5 separate regions of the Homo sapiens genome follow, and regions 2, 3, 4 and 5 are each linked to region 1. The links are contacts of gene promoters, found by promoter capture Hi-C in human tissues and cell types (Jung and others, 2019). All regions are on one chromosome and are shown on one strand. The core of a region is centred on a gene start or on the middle of the fragment in contact, and the rest is flanking DNA. Distances in the headings are between cores, read along the strand shown.

Region 1 (2,578 bases), core at 21-2,520:
CCCCTACCGGTGCCGCGGGAGGGGACACGGTGACCTGGAGGGAGCACTCCCGCATTGCGAGGGAGCCAGGGGGGCGGTCTGATCTGCAGCCCGGGGTTGTTCCTTCTTTTCTTTTTTTAAAATTAAGACTTTTTTTGTGACGGAGTCTCGCTCTGTCGCCCAGGCTGAAGTGCAATGGCGCGATCTCAGCTCACTGCAACCTCCGTCTCCCGGGTTCAAGCGGTTCTCCTGTCTCAGCCTCCTGAGTAGCTGGGATTACAGGCGCCCGCCACCACGCCCAGCTAATTTTTGTACTTTTAGTAGAGACGGGGTTTCCCCATGTTGGCCAGACTGGTCTAGAACTCCTGAGCTCAAATGATTCGCCCGCCTCGACCTTCCATAGTGCTGGGATTACAGGCGTGAGCCACCGCGCCAGGCCCTACGTATCATTTTTACGGTGAGACATTTGCAGTTTACTCTGTTATTTCGAAATACACATTATTGGCTCTAGTCACTCTGCTGTGCAACAGATCTCAGAACCTACTCCTCTCGTCTCTGAACTTCGTACCCTTTGGCCAACAAGCCCCCATTCCCCCCCGAACCCGCTCCCAGCCTCTGGCAACCATCATTCTAGTCGTTATTTCTATGAGTTCAACTTCTTTAGAGTTCACACATCTTTGTCCCTTTCCCCAAAAAAGCAACCGCTGGGCTTCCAAACTCGCTACAAGTCCAGAAGCCCTCCTGGAAAGGGTCTGGCCGCAGAGGGGCCAGGTCCCGGGAAAGTCTCGCCCGCCCGAGGAGGGGGCCTGGCGCGGCGCCCGGCCTTTGCCCGCTCGCCCTTTGCTCCCACCCTCGCCTCCCGCCGCCCGCCGCCCGCTTGCCCATTCCCGAATCCCCACCCCGATCTTTCTTCTTCTACCCTCCCCCAGTTGTGCAGTCCAGCAAGTTCCCTGGCCAGCCCCCTCCCGGGTGCAGGAAGCTACCGGGTGTCCCGGGTTGTAACCAAGCTTTCCTATTCCCTCCGGCGCGCGGCTCCAAGCTCTCCAAGGAACTGCGGGGGCGGGAGGCGTCGGGACGTCGGCTCCCAAGATCCTCCGAGTGCAAGACCCAGCGGTCATTTCGACGTAAGGGGAGGAGGTCTAAGAGCAAACCTCCTCCACTGGGGCGTCTAGAAACTTGGCAGGAAGAAAGCAAGGGGGTTAGAGGAGGGAGAAAAGGGAAGGAAAGAAAGCAGGAGGTCTACTTACAGGAGCCCGAAGGTTCCACTGCCTGGGGAAGGCGGCTGGGACTGCGCAGCCGGGCGCCCGGGGTCCGACTTATGACAGGTCCCAAGAGAGGGTGGGGCCACCCCAGGGCGGGGCTGCTTCTTTAGGGTGAGAGCCCGGCCCCGAAAGGGTCACAGGAGGAAAACCAGGGTCCGGGAAATCTGAGTGCGTTTGTGTGTGTGTGTGCGCGTATCTCTGTGTGCCTATGTGCATGTGCGCGCGCGTATGTGTGCATGTGTGCGTGTGTGTGCGTGCGCGCCCGCGCGCCCGTGTGTGTGCGTGTAGGGGGTTAGGGACTCCTGATAGGAAAATTCCTAACAGAGCTTTGTCCAGCTGACACTGGACCTCCGCCTGGGGTCCTAAGTTGGAGCCCGGCGGAAATATGCCCCGTGGGGGAACCAACCGTGGCATCTGCCAAGCAGGCCGGAAGGGTCCAAAGGCAGGGCCTGGGGCGGCCGCAGCCCTAATAAGCCCCCGGTGCTGGCTCCGATCCCTGGGCTCCCCGTCAGCCCTGCCGCTTGCCCGCAGTGCAAGCTTTCGCCCAGGGCTGCGGTGCAGACACCCTGCCTGTCTGTCCCCAGTCCGCCTGCTGAACACCTACTCGCCTTCCACCAGCCAATTCAAGGTCACCTCTGTGAACCCTTGCCAGACTCCCCCAGGCAGGAGTGAGCACTCTTGCCACTGAGGCACCCCACCCATCACACCCTAGCAAACATCAGGCCTTGACCTGGCTTCTGCAAGGAGAGGTGGTCTCAGGCAGGGGTTGAACGTGAAGCTAAGTCGTTGGTATTAGACGACTGCAGGTTCGAAGCCTGCACCTGCCACTTACTAGTGGTGTAGCTTTCAAAGACTTACTTACCTTCTCCTTGCCTCACTCAGTTCAGCCATCTGCAAGATGGGGATAAGAAGAATGCCTAACTTCCAGTCATTGTGAAGATTCAATGTCTTTAATTTATTTATTTAATTTTAATTATTTTGAGGTCTTGCTCTGTCACCCAGGCTGGAGTGCAATGGTGGGCATCATAGCTCATTGCAGCCTTGAACTCCTGGACTCAGGTGATCCTCCTTCAGCCTCCCTAGAAGCTGGGATTACAGGCCCACCACCACACCTGGCTCAATGTCTCTCCTTGTAAGGATACCCGCCATATTGGATTAGAGCCCCACTTGTCAGCCTCCGTTTAACTTAAACACGTCTTTGAAGGCCTTGTCTTCAAATACTGTCAAATGGATTAGGGCTCACTAATATGGCCTCATGTAACCTTAATTACCTCTTTAAAGGCCCTATCTACAAATACAGTTACATTCTGAGTACTGGGACTTGGGGATTTTAACAC
Region 2 (2,578 bases), core at 59-2,558, 500 kb before region 1:
ACTGCACTCTGGATGACAGAGTGAGACTCTGTCTCAAAAATTGATGATGAAGAAGAAAAAGGAGGAAGAGGAGGAGGAGGAGAAGGAGAAGGAGAAGAAGAAGAAGAAATCATTAGAAATCGCTTATGTCAATAACTTTGACAATTTAGCTGAAATAAATGAATTCCCAAAACTGATGCAAAAAAATGAAAATCTGAATAACTATTAAAGTTAAATTCCTAATTAAAAATCTGATGTAAGTCATTGTTTAGCCTTTATAGAGTCCAACATCTGTGACACATACATACATGTGTGTACATACACACATACATGATCATACATGTCATATATAATCCACTTCTGCATCTACAGAGATGGTATCAGGATTGCATATATCACCCTTCCACACCCCTATAAGGGTGCCCCTGAACACCAAGTCCCCAGAGGTTTCTCCAAAACCTCTCTCCAAAGCTGTCCATGACCACTTTAGCCCACGGGGGTGACTCCCTCGCTTATACTTTTTGCTCTCTCTCATCTTTTCAAATATGTGTGCCTTCTTTCCCAAAAGGTGTTGTCTATACTTAAGGGCAGGCATTTCTTGTTTAGAGCTCCCTCTGTAAGCTCTCATATAATCAACATTTAACAATACTTGTAGGTTGCATAGAAAAATAGAGAACATTGTCTTAATATTCAGCCACACAGAGTTAAAGGGCATGTTACTCCACACTCAGTGACGCTTCTGAGATTAGTTCTGAAAGATACAAAGGAATAATTGCCATTTTAATGTTTTGTTTTGTTTTTGTTTTTGTTTTTGTTTTTTTGGTAGAGACAGGATTTCACTATGTTGCCTGGGCTGGTTTTGAACTCCTGGGCTCAAGCAATCCTCCTATCTTCATCTCACGTAGTGCTGGGATTATAGGTGTAAGCCATTGTACCCAGCCTCATTTTAATATTTGATTAAACTCAAGAGTTTATTTATCGGGGACCTACTTCAGCAACAAGATTTACTAAGATAAGTGTGAGAGGTTCATCTCAAAATTAAAGCCCCTGATCCTGGCCTGTATTAATGGGAAGAACAAGAACATTGTGACCTCTCTGTGGGATTCTGCATTGCTGTTGCTGTATCTATGACAAAGAACCTCAAAAGGGGGACTTTCTAGGTCAGAGTTGAGGGTTAGTTCAGAGAGAAATTCAACCTTGGCCTTGGTTCTGATCTCCCCTGGCTTTTAGCCACAGGATGACCCCTTCCCTGTGTCTTTGATGGTCAGGGGGTGGAATATCCCCAGAGTCCCTATTTCACTTCCCTAAAGGGGAGGGAGTATTCTGGATTCTAGAAAATTAGAAACCAAAGAGCATTGTCTTCTGAGAAGTAGAGTTAGAGAAAGAGGAAGAGATGGTGAAGCCAGGAGGGGCCAGGAGAGTTTACACAGACTTGCTTCTGACTGTCCATGACTAAAAACTTTAGCAGTGACTCAGCATGGACCGGGAGGTGGGACTATTATAACTAGAGCAGGACACACTTATTGGAATCATGGCAAAAGGCCCTTTTCTCTGGCGTCTTAGCAAAAGGGATACAGTGAGATTTTCTAAAGTCAACAAAGTCAGATTCTTTGAATTTGTAAATCTTCCCTTGTCACTTCTCAGCATGAAGAAAATTGCTTATAGCTTTCAAGAATAGTACCATTATTCTTTCAATTAGCATTTTATGTACTACCCCCTGTCCATCTTCTCTCAATGAGACTCTCCTGAAAGCATGCTGTCTTTTTCAACCTGTTTCTGTGAAGAGGAGAGCATGAAATGTGTGGAATACTGTGCTGAGACCTTTATCACAAGAAAGAACCCAGAGGATTTAGACAGGCAAGGGAGTCAGGAAACTTGCATGTCATATCCTACAGGAGGCATAAAAATCATGAGGTAAGGCTTGCCTGGTTATATCATTTGCTGGAACAACTTTAGGAGAAGAGCAATGGGGTTCACTTACAGAACTTAGACAAGACCCATGTTAGCACAAACTGGGAAAAGATAAAGGTCAAATCAAATAGCCCTGGTATGAATTTATTATTAGGACTGCTTTTTTGAAAAACAAGATTCTGTTATATCACAGAGAGAAGCATGAAGTATCTATCCCTATGGAGTTAAACACGGAGTGAAATTCTAAAATCCTTCCGTCTAACAGCCCCTACATGCCATAAAACTGATGTGCTTCCTGCCAGTTGGGACGTTCCCAGCAACTGATAACCAAGAGCCATTTGAGAGCTCTGAGGAGTCCTTCCAGACGGCTTTGTTAGACAATGTCATTAAACTTCTTGTTTCCATGTGCACCAAAGTGTTTGTTTTAAACAGATTTCCTATGACCCCCACATGTGTTTAAATTTTCTGGACTTGATGTCTTATTTAGAAAGCCAGCTTAGCCCATGTCTGAGCAAAGTAATGTGATATGACAAGCTAACTGGGCATGAAGTTCATCCCAGGCATGCTTGGGACCAGAAAATTGAAGAAACACGAGTACTCACCCACCGTGAGGGTGTAACAAGGGAGGGGTGGGGAAGGTGGAAATCCTAAGGGGGAACACAATAATTTTTTCATAAACCGAGTGAAA
Region 3 (2,578 bases), core at 48-2,547, 430 kb after region 1:
GGTGTGAAATGTTTTAAATACAATGCGGGTTCTTGTTTCATTCATTACACCAAATACATTCCAAATGCAACAAATGTTTTAAAGTACGGCTAAAATTGCATGAGAGCTAGGAAAGAAATGGATAAATATTTTTAAATCTTGGGTGGAAAGTCTTTCTGAGCACATCATGAAATTCAGTAATCACAAACAAAAGATCAGTAACCTGGACTAAGTAACAATGAAAACTTTCCCATGGCAAAAACAAGCAAAAGTCTTATAAATAAAGTTGCAAGACAAAGAGCAAATATGGAGAAATATGTGCAATATAGATAACAAGCAGCTTGTGGCTTCCCTAATATAAAAAGAGTTGTGTAGTTATTTAGAATAAATCACCCCCTTCCCAAATAAAAAAGTATAGGTCTTCAGCTGAGGAAACGTTTTCTCCTGTCTCTACTGAACTACTCTCCCATACTCTGAAGTTGAAGGAAGGAGGTATAACCAATGGCAGTTGCTATTACTCACTCTTACCAGGAGTAAGGGCCAGTGCCCTTCACACACACACCCCCCACACACAACACACACAAATGTACACACAAACATAGACACAATGCACTCAGCTCTCACACACACACCACATACACACCACACACACACATACGCACACACATGTATATACAAACATGCACCCAATGCACTCAACTCAAATACACACAACACATATACAACACATATCTTGGGCAGTTTATTGTAGGGTCATACCTGCCTGCACGGTATGATCTGTACCTGTACCCCCTCTGCGTACCACTCAGCTGTTTCTAAGTTTTGCACTCTATCTGGATCCAGAAAGATGCCAGTGAACGTGGTCACAAAGGGGACATGTTCTGCCTGCTCCCCAAGGTGGAATCAGTGCATAGAGTCCCGTGGCTGCCTATTTTCTGGTTCGGGTCATGAGAAAGTCACTTCCTCCCTTTGCAAAAGGGTACTGTTTTTGTGAAATGAAGCCAGGGTACGCTGCGTGCATATCTGAAGTCAGATCCTTCTGAGGTTCTGCCGTTAGCTTGTCCATCTTCATTGTCAATGGTATCGGGAAATTCCCCTCCTTTCCCCAGCTTTGTTGGGTCTTCAAGGGTGACTGAAGGAGAGGTTCTTATGAGTCATTGCATTGAAGGCCACCAGCCAGACACCACTGTGAGCCATAAACTGTCATATAAAAGCTTTTCCAACCACCACCACAACAACAAAATATTCTCAGAACATAGATATACACAGAATACGGTCCCTGTGTCAACAGTCACTTGTGTGGGCTCAGTGCTGACAACGGTGCTGTGGCTACTCCAGGTATGCTGCAATCCCTCTTTGAAGATTGCCATCAGGGCTGGAAACACATATTTTTGGTATTCTGAGTCCACAAGTGTAATATTTTTACATCGTGTTTGATTTTCGGAAATGGTTAAAAGTCATTCGCCACATACTTCAGTTTATAAAAGAAATGTCCAACTGGCTGGAAAGAGTGGTGGAAGGGCAGAGGGGTGGGAATGGTTAATGGGTACCAAAAATTTAGAAAGACTGAATAAGACCTAGTATTTGATAGCACAACAGGGTGACTATAGTCAATCATAATTGAATCGTACATTAAAAAATAACTAAAAGAGTATAATTGGATTGTTTATAATACAAAGTATAAATGCTTGAGGGGATAGATACCCCATTCTCCATGTTGTGATTATCACACATTGCACACCTGTATCAAAACATCTCATGCATTCCATGAATATGTACACCATGTACCCACAAAAGTTACAATTAAAAATAAAAAAAGAAATGTCCAACAGGCTAAGTTTTAATGATATATATTTTATATGGATATATAATGTTTTTACCCTACATAGACAGAGAAAACTGTAAAGTAATAAGACTAATTGATGTTCTTTTGCAGCTCATAAACACTCCGAAGGCAATTCCCAAAGGTAACTTCTGAAAAAAAAAATGTTAATACTAATAGTGTCACTGGAATATGCATTTAGTCTTTCAAAGAAACTACTTAGAAGGACAACTATAATTCCGTTGAATATCTAGTATGTTTTGGGGAAGTCTCATTAGAGTTACGGTTTGTCTAGAAGATGTTTTTTTAAATGTTGTTTTGAAAGACTTCATAAGCAAATTGTCCCCTTCCTTTACCCACTTCCTTGCACCGCCCCCCAACAGTCAGCCAATCCAATGCACTGTCAAATTCTTTATTTTTATTTTGATAACATCTCCTTTTCATTAGAACCTTCCTCTCTAGTCCCTCTATTTCAATCTTTAATGTTGTTCTTTGTGCTGTTTCATGCCTTTGTTTACATTCTTACACACACACACCCCATTCCTGGAATTTCCCTCCTAGTCGTCTCTGCCTGAAAAAAAACCCTACTAACCCTTTGAGGCCAGCTCAGACTTCACCTGTGTGGCCCTTGCTGGCCTCTTGTACTTAATCACTCTGTTGTTATGCTTGTCACTCTGAACCACTGTGTAGTATAAAAACTCCATCACTGAAGGAGCTGGGTAAGGTGTTGCTGGATGTTGTGAAATGAAGGTTAAACTGATTTCTCAATCACAGGGG
Region 4 (2,578 bases), core at 47-2,546, 380 kb after region 1:
CTGCTTCTGGCTGTGCAGGGCAACCACTCAGACTGTCTATTCTTGCCTTTGCCCTAAAATGTGGGCTCTTGTAGGCACTGTCTTCAGCTCCTACATGGGATGAGGACTTCAGAGCGCAGAAGTCGACAGGCTCCCATGATTGTGTCAAGGCAAGAGTCAAGACCCACTGGAGGGCAGGGACCATGTCTGCATCTGTCTTTTTCACTGCTGCATCCTCACGGCTCAGGACACTCCCTGGTACAAAGCAGATGCTTAATAAATACTCATTGGATGGACAAATGAATGGATGGACAGATGAATGAATGAATGAATGAATACACAAATGAATCAGATCAGAGATCAGAGAGGAAAAAACTGCTTACGTTTTTAACACGTAGATGTGTTGCTTTTTGTGATCTTTTCTACTTCTCTTTAGTGAGTAGCAATAAAATCAGTAAGGAGAAGAGGGTCTGTGTGTTGGTTTTCTGGAGGAGGAAGATGGGAAGATTTCCCTCTGCCCTGTGATCAGGCTCTGAATGGGGAGAGTTGTCCCAGGACACAGAGCAAGTGGTGATAGCATGTGATGGAGGGAGGAAAGGAACACCTGCAGCATAGGGAGGAAAGGAACATAGAGCTGGCTGGAGACTGAGAAACCACTACTTGTTCTATGTCCTGAGAGAGAGGGGGGTTGAGCAGGAGAAAGGGCTGCTGGGGTTTTCCACCTGCAGGCACCACGGCTGAAAGGCCTCCTGCCCAGGTCCTACCTCTGACTCAGTACCGACCTTAGGTAAGGCCCTTTCCCCATTTATGGCCAAGTCAGAAGATGTGGCCCAGTCTGAGGTTATCAAAAGGCAGAAGCCTCATGAATACACCTGGTTATTAGCTCTGGCAGTGTAAAACCAACAGCAGCACCAACCACATGGTGTGAGCTTCCTCCTCCACTTCTCTGTTCAGTTTCTCTTCCTGCCTGTTTTCTCTGCTGGGTGGGCAGTTCAGAAGGCTTGGGCCTACCATGCCCCAAACAGAAGAGGCTGCTTTCCTTCCCTTCTGAGCAGCCACAGCAGTGTGAACCCAGATGTGTATCTGTCACCTTTTCCTCACTCCCATCCCGAGCCCATGTGTCCCATGAAAATGAGCCATGAACCCCCCTTTGGACGGTGGGAAACTTGATGACAGGTCCAGGTCCCCGATTTGCAAAACAAATTGCCTCTTCTCTTTCTTCCAGCCCATGCGTCTCTCTTTGGGCAAAAGTTAATTCTCACCAACCTCTATCAACCTCCTCGGGTTGACTTCGCTATGCTTTTTCTGGAAATTTGTGCTTCCCCATTTCTTAGAGCACAGCAAACTTGGGGTGCCCTGAAGGCTGAGACAGGGGCAGGGTGTGAGCAGCACTGGGCCTCTAAGGATGCTCCTCCTTGTACATTCCTGCCACATTGTGGGGACACAATCCCCATCAGCGTGATGATGTCATAATTGGGGTGGGCGAGATAGGGAAGTTCATTGCCTGTTGCATCCTTCCTGGCACCATCTTGGGACTCTTCCCACTCATTTGCTACTCAGGATCCAGGGTTTTCCCAGACCAAGACACAGAGGATCAGATGTTCAGCCATACCTACTCCCTTGTGGAGGTGCCAATCATAACTAAGGTGTACTGAGCATTGACCTTGTTTAACCAGACATTGTTGTATCAAACACTTTATCTTCATTAACTCGTTTGATGCTCATAACAATCCTACAAGGCTTGTCACATTATTCTTTTCACCTTTAAAATGAAAAAAAAAAAAAAAAAAAAACAAGCTTAGGAAGGTAATTTGCCCAAAGTTACCCAGCCACTAAGTGGTAGAGGCCCCACACACCCCTCCCACCATGACCACATCTTCTTTTTTTTTTTTTTTTTTTTTTTACAGAGTGATAGAGTCTCACTCTCACTCTGTCACCCAGGCTGGAGAGCAGTGGTGTGATCTCGGCTCACTGCAACCTCTGCTTCCCAGGTTCAAGTGATTCTCCTGCCTTGGCCTCCTGAGTAGCTGAGATTACAGGCATGCACAACCACGCCTGGCTAATTTTTGTATTTTTAGTAGAGACAGGGTTTCACCATGTTGGCCAGGCTGGTCTCGAACTCCCGACGTCAGGTGATCCACCCACCTCGGCCTCCCAAAGTGCTGGGATTACAGGTGCGAGCCACCGTGCCCAGCCAGCCACATCCTCTTATAAAGTGGAGGGGTGGAGGAAGGAAGGAGGTCTCTACAAGGGTTTCCTTTTGGGTCTAACGATTAGTGAGCCCTCTCTAGGGAAGGAAAACCAACATCTGTGCAGAACTTCAGGCTGGTGAGGAAGATGTTGATCCCAATTAGAATCTGGCATCTGGCACTTGCAATAAATACCAGGGCACCTGCTTGTGTCCGCAGAATCACCCCAGCCTTTGTGCCAGAAAGAAAACACTCTTCACTGGATCCTCAAAGGAGTCCAGTCTCTGGCCCAGCTCTCAGGGAGCTCATGGTCTGGTGGAGGTAATGAACTCCTCTCCCTCACTCCACGTCTCCCTAATTCACACCTCCTTCCTCTGAAAAGACTCCCTTCCAGGCCTTGACTAAAAGGG
Region 5 (2,578 bases), core at 40-2,539, 340 kb after region 1:
CCAGCCTCCAAAACTGAGAAAGTTTTGTTGTTTATAACCCACCCAGTCTATGGTATTCTGTTATCGGAGCCGTAAGACACAGTCTAAAAGGGATCTGGCCCAGTAAACAAACATTCCTTCTCATTTGTGTACTTCTAACCCTACAGTTTAAGAAATGATCAACACAAAGTTGAGTATGTCTTAGAATTTCATAGCTAGGTGGATCTTGAGGATCCCTCACCCTTATTTTAGAATGAAGAAGCTGAGACACCCACGGTGAGAGCTGTGATCATAGGGTTAGGTAGGCATGGTGCTGGTGGCAGAGCTGGGAGTAGCCCCTCTATCTGGTCCCAGTGTGGTATATTTCTCCGCTGGACCACATTTAAATTTATGCTTACACTGGCTTGAAAATTTACCTAGACCTTAAGGGGGAAAAATATCACAGTTTTAATAACCATCTGTATCCTAACTCAAAAATTGTTCTAGAGAACCAGATTCAAACCTGTAGAACAAGAATGTAAATTACTATAAAGCTCATTTAAAGTGAAATGCTTTACATACATGATTGATAAGATTGATGCATACCACAAGACTGTGTTCATGAGAATGGAAATAGTTCAGACCTTTCCTTCTGAAGTTTATCAGGATCTAGTGCTTGAGTTATTTATTTATTCATTTCAAGTTATAGTTTACGACCATATCAAGTTCATTTCGGTGAAAAGAAAGCAAACCGCAAAATGGTGAGTACCTGTCTCTGCAGAGCTGCAAGGATATGTGTTTAGTTGGGTAATTTGCTTTAAAAATATTGATACCTAGAAAAAAGTTTAAAATCACTATCCTAGTATTTTCTAAAAACAAAAATACATATCTTTAAGAGATCCCTAAGCAGCTAGTTTCCTAAGAACCAAAATGTGCTAAGCCTTTCACATGGCCCCTCCTCAGTTCCGAGAGAAATTGGCAGAGACTGTGGGTGTCTGGAATGGTTTCATGTGGTTGTGCTGTTTAGACTAATCATCATTAAGACATCCATGCTAATAGCATGGACTTGTAATTATCTAATTTAAGCAATTTAGGGATATCATTTATTCTTCTACAGGACTGAGAGTATCTGCACCCCTCCTCTGCTGCCTGCACACCCCATTGCGGTCATGCCACCTTTGTTTCCCAACCCTTGTCACCAGATGTGAAACCTCTATCATTTCCCCTCATGACTGACGGACACCAGGCCAGCCTAAGGAACATGCTGGAGAAATCCAGCAGACTATTTATTGTGCAGCTCTGGAGCAGGGGAAAGGAATGGGTTAGAAGTGGTGACTTGGGAGTAATTTCCCTAGAGGTGATGGCTGAGACAGTGACTATAACTAAAGTCAAAGTGCCATTTAGAGAGACAATGGAAGAAAAACATCTAGGAAAAGAGGCTGCCAAACCTGGGGTCCAAATGGGCTTTTTGGTAGCTATGGGACTTTAGGAAGCTTCCTTCATCTTTCTGAGCCAAGCTTTCTTAACCATGTAGAATGGAGATACTAAAGCACCTGAGGTGGTAGAGATGATTCGATGAGGTCATGTACATGAGCATAGGGACAGTTAGTGCCTTTTTCCTCCCAAAGAAGAAAGAAATAGTAAAAGGAGTGCCACAGTAGCCTTGGAAAGAGAGATTTCAAGAAGGAAGTGGTCACGGGAGGGGCCGTTGACCGTAAAGGATGAGAAGAGGCTGGTGAACTCTGGGGCAGGAAACTCCCTGTAGAGTTGCCAGCGTGGGTCTCCGCCATAGTGAATTGTCTCAGACGTTGATAGATGAAGTGTCTGCGTGGGAGTAATACAGCTTCTTTATGAACGATTTTTCTTGTTTTACACAGTGATATATTTTCTACAGTGAGAGACAAAGGGGTGGGACTTTCAAAGACAGAAATTGCTCCTGACCCTGAGAGCACCCATATGACTCTGATGCCAAGGAAACAGTTTAAGAAAGGCAGCTCCCAGGAAGCCAGTTCATCAGAGTGGAAGAAGCAGAAGTCAGATGCTTTAGGTTTGGCTGCGTGTGAAAAAGACATGAAAGCGATGGGCACAGATATTTGGAAACTGCAACAACGATGCATTTCCACCCAAGGTCCCAGTAATACTAAGCCAAAAAACTAAGCCTGACTTGAATTTGTGAGAAATGTCCTAAGAAGTTGGGTCATTAAGAGACGATGAAGGGGAATTGTCCATCCCCATCTTCCAGTCTCCTGACTTTATCCTAGACTGTCTCCCAACAGCATAATCGGCATCCCGGAAGCAGCTGTGGGCACCCTAGCCCTGCCCACAGTCTGCCCTTTTTCATTTTGTTCTGATTCGCTTATTTTTGGTTATATTGCTTGTTTTACTTCCTGCTTTGTCTCTACATTGACTTGGAGCTTGACTTCTGACTTCAGCTTCTTCCTCTGACCCCATGTTCCTCAGCCTTACTCCAAGCCCAGGAAAAGGTGGTCCTTAATTTTCTATTCTCATTTCACATCACCATCTCTCCAGCCTGAGCTCTCCACCCCCAACCCAATGGCTCACTCTCACCAGCCGACCCTTTTCCGTGTGGAACCAGAGCTTCCTTGCTCCCATGCTGTTT

The links. The method cuts DNA at HindIII sites, captures the fragments that hold promoters and counts their contacts. A contact is called where the count stands out against the background at its distance.
Region 2: a contact is called between a fragment that was not itself captured here and the fragment with the promoter of PTGR1 in region 1, in 1 of the 25 tissues and cell types used here (IMR-90 fibroblasts).
Region 3: a contact is called between a fragment that was not itself captured here and the fragment with the promoter of PTGR1 in region 1, in 1 of the 25 tissues and cell types used here (ovary).
Region 4: a fragment that was not itself captured here is called in contact with the fragment with the promoter of PTGR1 in region 1 in 1 of the 25 tissues and cell types used here (lymphoblastoid cells).
Region 5: a fragment that was not itself captured here is called in contact with the fragment with the promoter of PTGR1 in region 1 in 1 of the 25 tissues and cell types used here (lymphoblastoid cells).

What each region holds. Positions count from the first base shown.
Region 1 is chr9:111,598,377-111,600,954 of GRCh38, forward strand. It overlaps PTGR1 (prostaglandin reductase 1), which reads right to left and starts at 1,271. Exons shown (of 10, transcript NM_001146108.2): 1 at 1,227-1,271. RefSeq lists an enhancer at 1,122-1,694. The HindIII fragment of the contact is 5,410 bases long and covers 1-2,578 here.
Region 2 is chr9:111,093,360-111,095,937 of GRCh38, forward strand. No RefSeq gene overlaps it. Among named protein-coding and RNA genes, the nearest start is that of LPAR1, 56 kb to the left of the region's middle. The HindIII fragment of the contact is 5,286 bases long and covers 1-2,578 here.
Region 3 is chr9:112,027,839-112,030,416 of GRCh38, forward strand. LINC02977 (long intergenic non-protein coding RNA 2977) reads right to left here. Exons shown (of 3, transcript NR_186812.1): 3 at 700-1,953. Among named protein-coding and RNA genes, the nearest start is that of LINC02977, 11 kb to the right of the region's middle. RefSeq lists enhancers at 975-1,024, 1,335-1,464. The HindIII fragment of the contact is 3,770 bases long and covers 1-2,578 here.
Region 4 is chr9:111,982,824-111,985,401 of GRCh38, forward strand. No RefSeq gene overlaps it. Among named protein-coding and RNA genes, the nearest start is that of MIR4668, 52 kb to the left of the region's middle. RefSeq lists enhancers at 656-715, 1,016-1,115, 2,446-2,578. The HindIII fragment of the contact is 6,595 bases long and covers 1-2,578 here.
Region 5 is chr9:111,936,316-111,938,893 of GRCh38, forward strand. No RefSeq gene overlaps it. Among named protein-coding and RNA genes, the nearest start is that of MIR4668, 5.5 kb to the left of the region's middle. RefSeq lists an enhancer at 1,570-1,879. The HindIII fragment of the contact is 5,345 bases long and covers 1-2,578 here.